Regions from separate parts of the Homo sapiens genome. Here all the other regions are linked to region 2. Evidence: promoter capture Hi-C in human tissues and cell types (Jung and others, 2019). All regions are on one chromosome and are shown on one strand. The core of a region is centred on a gene start or on the middle of the fragment in contact, and the rest is flanking DNA. Distances in the headings are between cores, read along the strand shown.

What was found. The method cuts DNA at HindIII sites, captures the fragments that hold promoters and counts their contacts. A contact is called where the count stands out against the background at its distance.
Region 1: a contact is called between a fragment that was not itself captured here and the fragment with the promoter of VEGFC in region 2, in 1 of the 25 tissues and cell types used here (hippocampus).
Region 3: a contact is called between a fragment that was not itself captured here and the fragment with the promoter of VEGFC in region 2, in 2 of the 25 tissues and cell types used here (IMR-90 fibroblasts and mesenchymal stem cells).

The regions. Positions count from the first base shown.
Region 1 is chr4:177,092,409-177,095,108 of GRCh38, reverse strand. No RefSeq gene overlaps it. Among named protein-coding and RNA genes, the nearest start is that of NEIL3, 220 kb to the left of the region's middle. The HindIII fragment of the contact is 3,421 bases long and covers 1-2,700 here.
Region 2 is chr4:176,791,635-176,794,334 of GRCh38, reverse strand. It overlaps VEGFC (vascular endothelial growth factor C), which reads left to right and starts at 1,413. Exons shown (of 7, transcript NM_005429.5): 1 at 1,413-2,170. The coding sequence starts at 2,024. The HindIII fragment of the contact is 7,489 bases long and covers 1-2,700 here.
Region 3 is chr4:177,186,824-177,189,523 of GRCh38, reverse strand. No RefSeq gene overlaps it. Among named protein-coding and RNA genes, the nearest start is that of NEIL3, 120 kb to the left of the region's middle. The HindIII fragment of the contact is 5,629 bases long and covers 1-2,700 here.

The DNA of each region.
Region 1 (2,700 bases), core at 29-2,528, 300 kb before region 2:
TTATATTATATTCTTTTGATACCAACACATTTCATTATATAGATATGTACCCAACCTTCTACTCTATATGTGAGTACAGTTTAGTGGGCTGAGGGGCTGAGACTCAGATTTCCAGTGATAGTAGATTTTAGCAAACTTTCCAAATAAATGGTTTAAAAAGTACAGCATAGAATCCCTGATGAACCCTCCAGGTTGTTTGGAAACTGATCCAGACTCTAAAGTAAGCTCTTTTGACTTGTTGTGAGTTTCCCTGGCATCAGAGGAGAAAAAAGAGAAGGAGAGTTGTTTGTTTTTTCACTAACCTTTGGAAATTCACTAAGAATAGCTTGTGGGAAGCTGAACCATCTAGAATGTTGTTACTGCCACAAATGCCAACTTGAATCAGATGTGATACAGTTGGATCCCACCATCCCTTAGCTTTCAACCATAGAAACAAAGGCCACCCACAAGCACAAGCCAGGCAGAAAGAGGTGAAGGGAAGTTATACCCCATAAGATCTTACTGGAAAAAAAAAAAAAAAAAAGGGCCACATCTGGTACTCTGCCTCTGTGGCTGTATCTCACCATATCCACCAACAGTGTTCAGGCCAGTTGCATATCTTTCTCATACTGAAGGACTAAATGATAAGATTAGCTGTTCCGAGTGCAAAGGGGCAAATGCCATAGCTCTGGAGGAGCTGATCTGTGAAAACGCGTGGGAGCAGTTGTGGATAATAGTTTTAATTTTTGATGTGATTCAAAGGAAAAAATATGAAAAGCACTGATTTGCTTTATGTTAGTAATTTGTGCTATGCGTAAGTCAGAATTTACATGACATAAAACAAGGCTGGTACCTCAGGCAGGGCCCTCCTGTGCTAACTGTATGCCAAGAAATGATCATCTGTTCTGGATTATTGTCACAGGCAGCCCTATTGTCTTTGCTATGAGTCTGCAAAAAGTAGTATCAATCTAAGTGCCTTGTGTGTTCACTGGTGTCCAAATAAGCAAGGGAAGAAGTGTGACCACATTCTCCCTCTGGCCCACTTTGAGGTTTTTGTGGCTGATTAGGTTTTGTCTTGACTTCTCTGGCCTGTCAGCTCTGGAAAGGAAAGGCCCTTAGTATATTTGGTATATTTCAACTATTTGTTTTAAAAATAATTTTGCAAGGGAGAAATTGATCTGCATAAAGCAGAAGGAGGAAATACCCTCAAGCATTTGACAATGTGTTCCATTTTTCCTTCCCACAGGGTACACAATCTTCCTGATGATTTTTTTGTTATTTCAATTACTAAAGCTTAAAGTGTCACCATATTAGGAATGGTGCATTTGACTTTAAAATACTAGTCTGAAATAAAAAATACCTAATTTTATATTACTTCAGATACGTCAATACAGGGAGAGACTTCAAATAGGTCAATACAGGTCGAGGCATCCTTCAATATTCCAGTAACAAAATATATAATTCAAAATTTTATTTAAATATATTTTTTGTTGGATTGAGTGTCAAATATTCGAGTAACTCCAAGGAAAAAGTTATGAATATGTATATATACACACATATATGTTTATGTATGTATGTATGTACATATATATGCATATATATACATATATTTCTATATATAGCAGCCTATATAATATGGTATATATAAAAAAGTAAGATTCACATATGGAAATAATGCCTTCATATAATTTTATTGAAATTAATTTTGGACTAGGAGAGTTGTAGCTATTTCAAAACTTACTGATTATCAGAACAATTGTACAAATAGTTTCTAATATGTTAAATAATTTTCTGTCTTCCCAAGTTTCAGATAGGCATCTATTATGCAGGACAAAAATTCTAAGTACCATCAATAAATTTAAAAAATTAAGTGAAAAATATTACTGTATTAAAAATTATGTCATAAAATTTAACAGCCAGAGTAACCTTGGCAGGGCTGACTATAGAATGGGACTGTAGAGAAATTTAACTGACTGTACAAATATGTTTGCAGGGTGTTGTTTTGTTTCGGTGTTATGTAAATTCTTCAAATCTAAAACAGAAAGTTTATGTAACACACGCCAAGTCAATCTCTGTATGTGCTTCATCCCTTGTTACTTGGGAAATGATGGGCTTTTCACTTAATGATGTTGAAAATCACTCCAAGGACACAAAGCCAAATATGCAGGAGACCAATTGGATGGTGTAATTTGCAAACCCATTATTTATTTCTGTCATATGGCATGAACTTTGTTTAAAGGGCTAGTAGCACAGAGTGTGTCTTGTGAGGTATACTCTTTAAAAATTTTAACACAAGACTATAGCTCTCATCAATGACTTAGAAAATAAACAACTTTTAAAACAAGCTAGTTGATATGGTTGGTAAAATAGTACTATTTAGATACTAAGTCTCATATCAAGCCTTTGACATAGAAATAGCAGGATGATCTAGGACAATAAATAAGTGAGTGATATTTTCAATCTGTGTGCTGGAAACCTTGTTTTTCAGTCTAAAACATAATCTAAGAACTTATTTTCCAAACATTAAATATAGTAACAACATTGGGTGTTCTTTCAAATTTAATATATAGCTTTCACTTCATGAGTATAGACGTAATCTTTACATTGCATTTGGGAGCATTATTTTTAGCTTAGAGTAGCAAAGCTACTTTGGGATTTTGGTCATCCTAATAATCAATATGCACTAAGTCAGAAATCATCTACACCATCACGCTGGAAACT
Region 2 (2,700 bases), core at 164-2,663:
AGGCTGTATCAACAAAGGCATACTGTCCATTCTGCATGCTCATTACAGCACTAAGTACCGAGCCATGTTCTCAACCGCATACTTCATGAACATGGAAAGCTAACAGTATGGTTAAGGGGGGAAACTGGAACTGTCATCTTGGGGAATAAAAGGGATATTTAGCCAGGAGTAAAGTTAGCTTAGGGAGACCATGATAAATATTTTCAAAATATTTGAAGGACTCAGTTGTGGAAGTGAGATTAGATTTATTGTGTAAAACTCCAGGAGTCAAAAGCAATAGAGAGATAGAAGGAAATGCTTTTCAGCAGTGTTGCTCATCAATAAAGGGAGTGAACAGCCACACAGAATGGAAGGTTCCCTGTCCTTTGAGATATTTAAGCCTTCAAGTAAATTATGGGTGAGGAGTTTCAAATCTAGAGTTGAACCAGATAAGAAAGTCTCTTCTTCCGGTAAGATATTATGGACCTATAACATCTGTGTACTTAAAAGTAGATTGGGAGTGAAAGGCAGACTTTTGATGTTCTGTACACTGTTGAAACCCCTTAGCGTGGTCCTCTGTAACCTGCTCACCCTGCCCCAAGGAGGCAGCTAGCCAATGCCACCAGCCCAACGGAAACCCCAGTGCTTTTCCAATGGGGAAATGCAGTCACTTTTCTTTGGATGCTACACATCCTTTCTGGAATATGTCTCACACACATCTCTCTTTATCACCCCCTTTTTCAAGTAAACCAACTTCTTGCAGAAGCTGACAATGTGTCTCTTTACTCTCCACGAAGATTCTGGCCCTTCTCTTCACCTGTCAGAAGTTTAGGATTCCAAAGGGATCATTAGCATCCATCCCAACAGCCTGCACTGCATCCTGAGAACTGCGGTTCTTGGATCATCAGGCAACTTTCAACTACACAGACCAAGGGAGAGAGGGGACCCCTCCGAGGTCCCATAGGGTTCTCTGACATAGTGATGACCTTTTCTTGGAACTTTTACAACCCCCAGGACATTTCCAAACTTTGAGCAGGGCTCTGGGGGCCAGGCGTGCGGGAGGGAGGACAAGAACTCGGGAGTGGCCGAGGATAAAGCGGGGGCTCCCTCCACCCCACGGTGCCCAGTTTCTCCCCGCTGCACGTGGTCCAGGGTGGTCGCATCACCTCTAAAGCCGGTCCCGCCAACCGCCAGCCCCGGGACTGAACTTGCCCCTCCGGCCGCCCGCTCCCCGCAGGGGACAGGGGCGGGGAGGGAGAGATCCAGAGGGGGGCCGGGGGAGGTGGGGCCGCCGGGGAGGAGGCGAGGGAAACGGGGAGCTCCAGGGAGACGGCTTCCGAGGGAGAGTGAGAGGGGAGGGCAGCCCGGGCTCGGCACGCTCCCTCCCTCGGCCGCTTTCTCTCACATAAGCGCAGGCAGAGGGCGCGTCAGTCATGCCCTGCCCCTGCGCCCGCCGCCGCCGCCGCCGCCGCTCAGCCCGGCGCGCTCTGGAGGATCCTGCGCCGCGGCGCTCCCGGGCCCCGCCGCCGCCAGCCGCCCCGCCGCCCTCCTCCCGCCCCCGGCACCGCCGCCAGCGCCCCCGCCGCAGCGCCCGCGGCCCGGCTCCTCTCACTTCGGGGAAGGGGAGGGAGGAGGGGGACGAGGGCTCTGGCGGGTTTGGAGGGGCTGAACATCGCGGGGTGTTCTGGTGTCCCCCGCCCCGCCTCTCCAAAAAGCTACACCGACGCGGACCGCGGCGGCGTCCTCCCTCGCCCTCGCTTCACCTCGCGGGCTCCGAATGCGGGGAGCTCGGATGTCCGGTTTCCTGTGAGGCTTTTACCTGACACCCGCCGCCTTTCCCCGGCACTGGCTGGGAGGGCGCCCTGCAAAGTTGGGAACGCGGAGCCCCGGACCCGCTCCCGCCGCCTCCGGCTCGCCCAGGGGGGGTCGCCGGGAGGAGCCCGGGGGAGAGGGACCAGGAGGGGCCCGCGGCCTCGCAGGGGCGCCCGCGCCCCCACCCCTGCCCCCGCCAGCGGACCGGTCCCCCACCCCCGGTCCTTCCACCATGCACTTGCTGGGCTTCTTCTCTGTGGCGTGTTCTCTGCTCGCCGCTGCGCTGCTCCCGGGTCCTCGCGAGGCGCCCGCCGCCGCCGCCGCCTTCGAGTCCGGACTCGACCTCTCGGACGCGGAGCCCGACGCGGGCGAGGCCACGGTAGGTCTGCGTTAGGGTTTGCGGAGAACCCGAGAGTTTGCGTTAGGGTCTGCGGCGGACCCGAGAACCTGCGCGGGGGAAAGTGTGTGTGCTTTAAGCTTGTGTACGTGGGATCCAAAGTTACTGAGCTCAGTGCACGCTGCTTTGGAGAAAAATCTTCTTCTTTTTAAATAGAAAGTTGTTACTAGAGAGGCAAGCAAGTTACACGAGTGAAGGGCCCGGAGAGGTGCCCAGTGAGAGATCCCGAAATCTATTTCAGACTGGTTTCCTCTGGGGCAACCAAGGGGTCTTGAACCCTGCCCAGTCAGCGGGGCTCTGGAGAGTATGAGTTCATTTTGGTCGGGAAATGCTCGTTTCTTTCCCCAGCTGATTCATGGGACTCCAAACAGATTCTGGGACACTGGTGATCAGTCAACCCAGCCTTACTTTCCTGGAGTGTTCATAGTCTGCAGAGCACCAGGCGCTGTGAGCGACTTTAGAAAAAAAGTGTCAGGGACTTTAGTAACCAGGCTCCAGAGCTTTCAGAGTTC
Region 3 (2,700 bases), core at 70-2,569, 400 kb before region 2:
AGGCCCAAAATATTTCTTACCCCCTGCCTTTTTTGGTTAATTTCTAGTGACAAATGCAGTGCCTGCGATATTTTCACAGCTCATTGTTGGAAGAAGGGAGGGAGGGAGGGAGGAGGAGGGAGGCAGGATGTCAGATAGTCTAATGTATTAGTAACCTCTTGGAAAAACTATTATATTTTGAAAAGTGTCAAAGAAATGTACTTTGAAGTTCACAATATTTAAATATCAGGAAAAGTGAACAATCTGGCGAATACACATCACCTTGCTTTTTTATTAATTTAACAAATGCATTTTAATCTATTTCTGGTTTTAATCTTGGGCAAGTTACAATATTTGTTAGTTTAAATTTCCTTATTTGAAAGACAATGGGATAAATAATCTTTACATTTTAATCCCACTCAAATTTTTAATACACTCTAGAAAAGAAGAACAGATTTAGGAGTGCAATGCAGATTGCTGTCTTTATGTTTTTATTGTTTGTGTTTTTATGTTGAATTGAAATATGCATATAAATGAGCTTATGAGAACTTTTAGCAACAAATAAGGTAACACTATCTTTCTACTGGTAGGAAGTGACTATGGTAGTAACAGTGTGAATGAAGGCAGTTGGGCCATGGAAATTCCATTTGCCACATCTAGAGAGGGCTTTGTAGTGGGGCCTCCTACCTATAGCATTTAGAAGCTCACATTCTTCTTTTTTAAGAAGCACTGTGGCCGGGCGCGGTGGCTCACGCCTGTAATCCCAGCACTTTGGGAGGCCGAGGCGGGCGGATCACGAGGTCAGGAGATCGAGACCATCCCGGCTAAAACGGTGAAACCCCGTCTCTACTAAAAATACAAAAAATTAGCCAGGCGTAGTGGCGGGCGCCTGTAGTCCCAGCTACTTGGGAGGCTGAGGCAGGAGAATGGCGTGAACCCGGGAGGCGGAGCTTGCAGTGAGCCGAGATCGCGCCACTGCACTCCAGCCTGGGCGACAGAGCGAGACTCCGTCTCAAAAAAAAAAAAAAAAAAAAAGCACTGTGTGAACAATAGCAAATTAGTCCAGTTTCTTTTCCTTTAATGTTAGAACATGAGAGCTTTGGAGAAAGCATTTCATCCCTGGGTTCATGGAAATTTTTTTTTTAAGTACTGGTATGTAATGGACCTTTTAGTTATATACAAGCACACTGATAGGACAATGTTTTTGGTCAGGGGGCATTTCCAGGTAGGAGAAAAGTTCAATCATATGGCAGTTCAGTTTTAGTTTGCAGTATGTATCTATATAAAGTAATTTAAAAGATGACAATCAAGCCAAAACAGTTCGAGACTTTATAGGGACTTGGAAAATTAAAATTAACTTGTGAAAAAAAATCATAAAATTATCATAACTGATTTCAGAAATGTACTGAAAGAAACATAGTTTGGGTGTACAATTAAATTACATAGGAATTAAATAAAATTCCAAAATAACATTAAGGAGCAACTTATTTGGCTATTTTGAAACATCTGATTAGTTAGCTTGCTGACTGGATTTGCTCTTTTTTTTTTTTGAGATGGAGTCTTGCTCAGTTTCCCAGACTGGAGTGCAGTGGCCCAAACTCGGCTCATTGCAACCTCCGCCTCCCAGGTTCAAGTCATTCTCCTGCCTCAGCCTCCCAAGTAGCTGGGACTACAGATGCGCACCAGCATGCCCGGCTAATTTTTGTATTTTTAGTAGAGACAGGGTTTCACCATGTTGGCCAGGCTCATCTCAAACTCCTGACCTCAGGTGATCCACTTGCCTTGGTCTCCCAAAGTGCTGAGATTACAGGCTGCTCTCTTTTTAAAATACAGTATACATTCAAAGTAAACCTTCTTTCAGAAGAGGTATACTTTCTAGTCAAAAGATTGCAGGAGCCAGATGTCTGAGAACACAATTTAGAATTTCGAAGTTTCTTGAAGGCAGATCATATACACTGAACTTTCCACATGCCCACTAGCTCAGCACTGAGCTCACAAATGCTAAGAGTTCTTTGTTTTGATTTGCTTAAGAATTTGAATATATTATCTGCAAAAATTGTTGATACAAAATGTCCTAACGTTTTTCAAGCCATAATTTATTATTCCTTATATAAATCAGAATGTGAGGCTCACAATTGTTGTTTGCCAGAGTTCAAATATTTTAAAAAGATCCTTTTTGAGAAAATATTTTATTTTCAAGCAGCCTGTGGTCAGCCTCATATGGAAGTGGGACGGCTCCCAGGACCAGTAATTTGTCAAGTGCCAAACCACATACAATAGATATAATTCTGCCTTCTGACAGCCTCATATTTAAGCACATGGATCTCATGTCAGAATATGTAAACCTGAATTGAATACGAACCAGGACTTCCTGAAATTCTATTTGAGACATAATGTATTAAAAGAAAATCATCTAGGATCTGTCAACTCTGTGTTTTCCTAGGTTTTCTCATTTTTGTCATCAGAAAGCAATACACCTAGAACATTTCTCATGATCTTACAGATATGTCTAAACTACCTTAATTTTGCCATGTTGCAAAAATTAGCAAAGAGTATTATAAAATTTTTATCTTAGGGAACACGTGTGTTCTCACATAACTTCCCAAGCTCTCTATTTTACTTTTTGCAGACCAAAACCAAATAGAGAAATGAGCTGTCCTTTAAAATCATTCATGTTATAATTAGTCAAGCCCAAGTAAAGATAGAGTTGGGGAGGAGGGA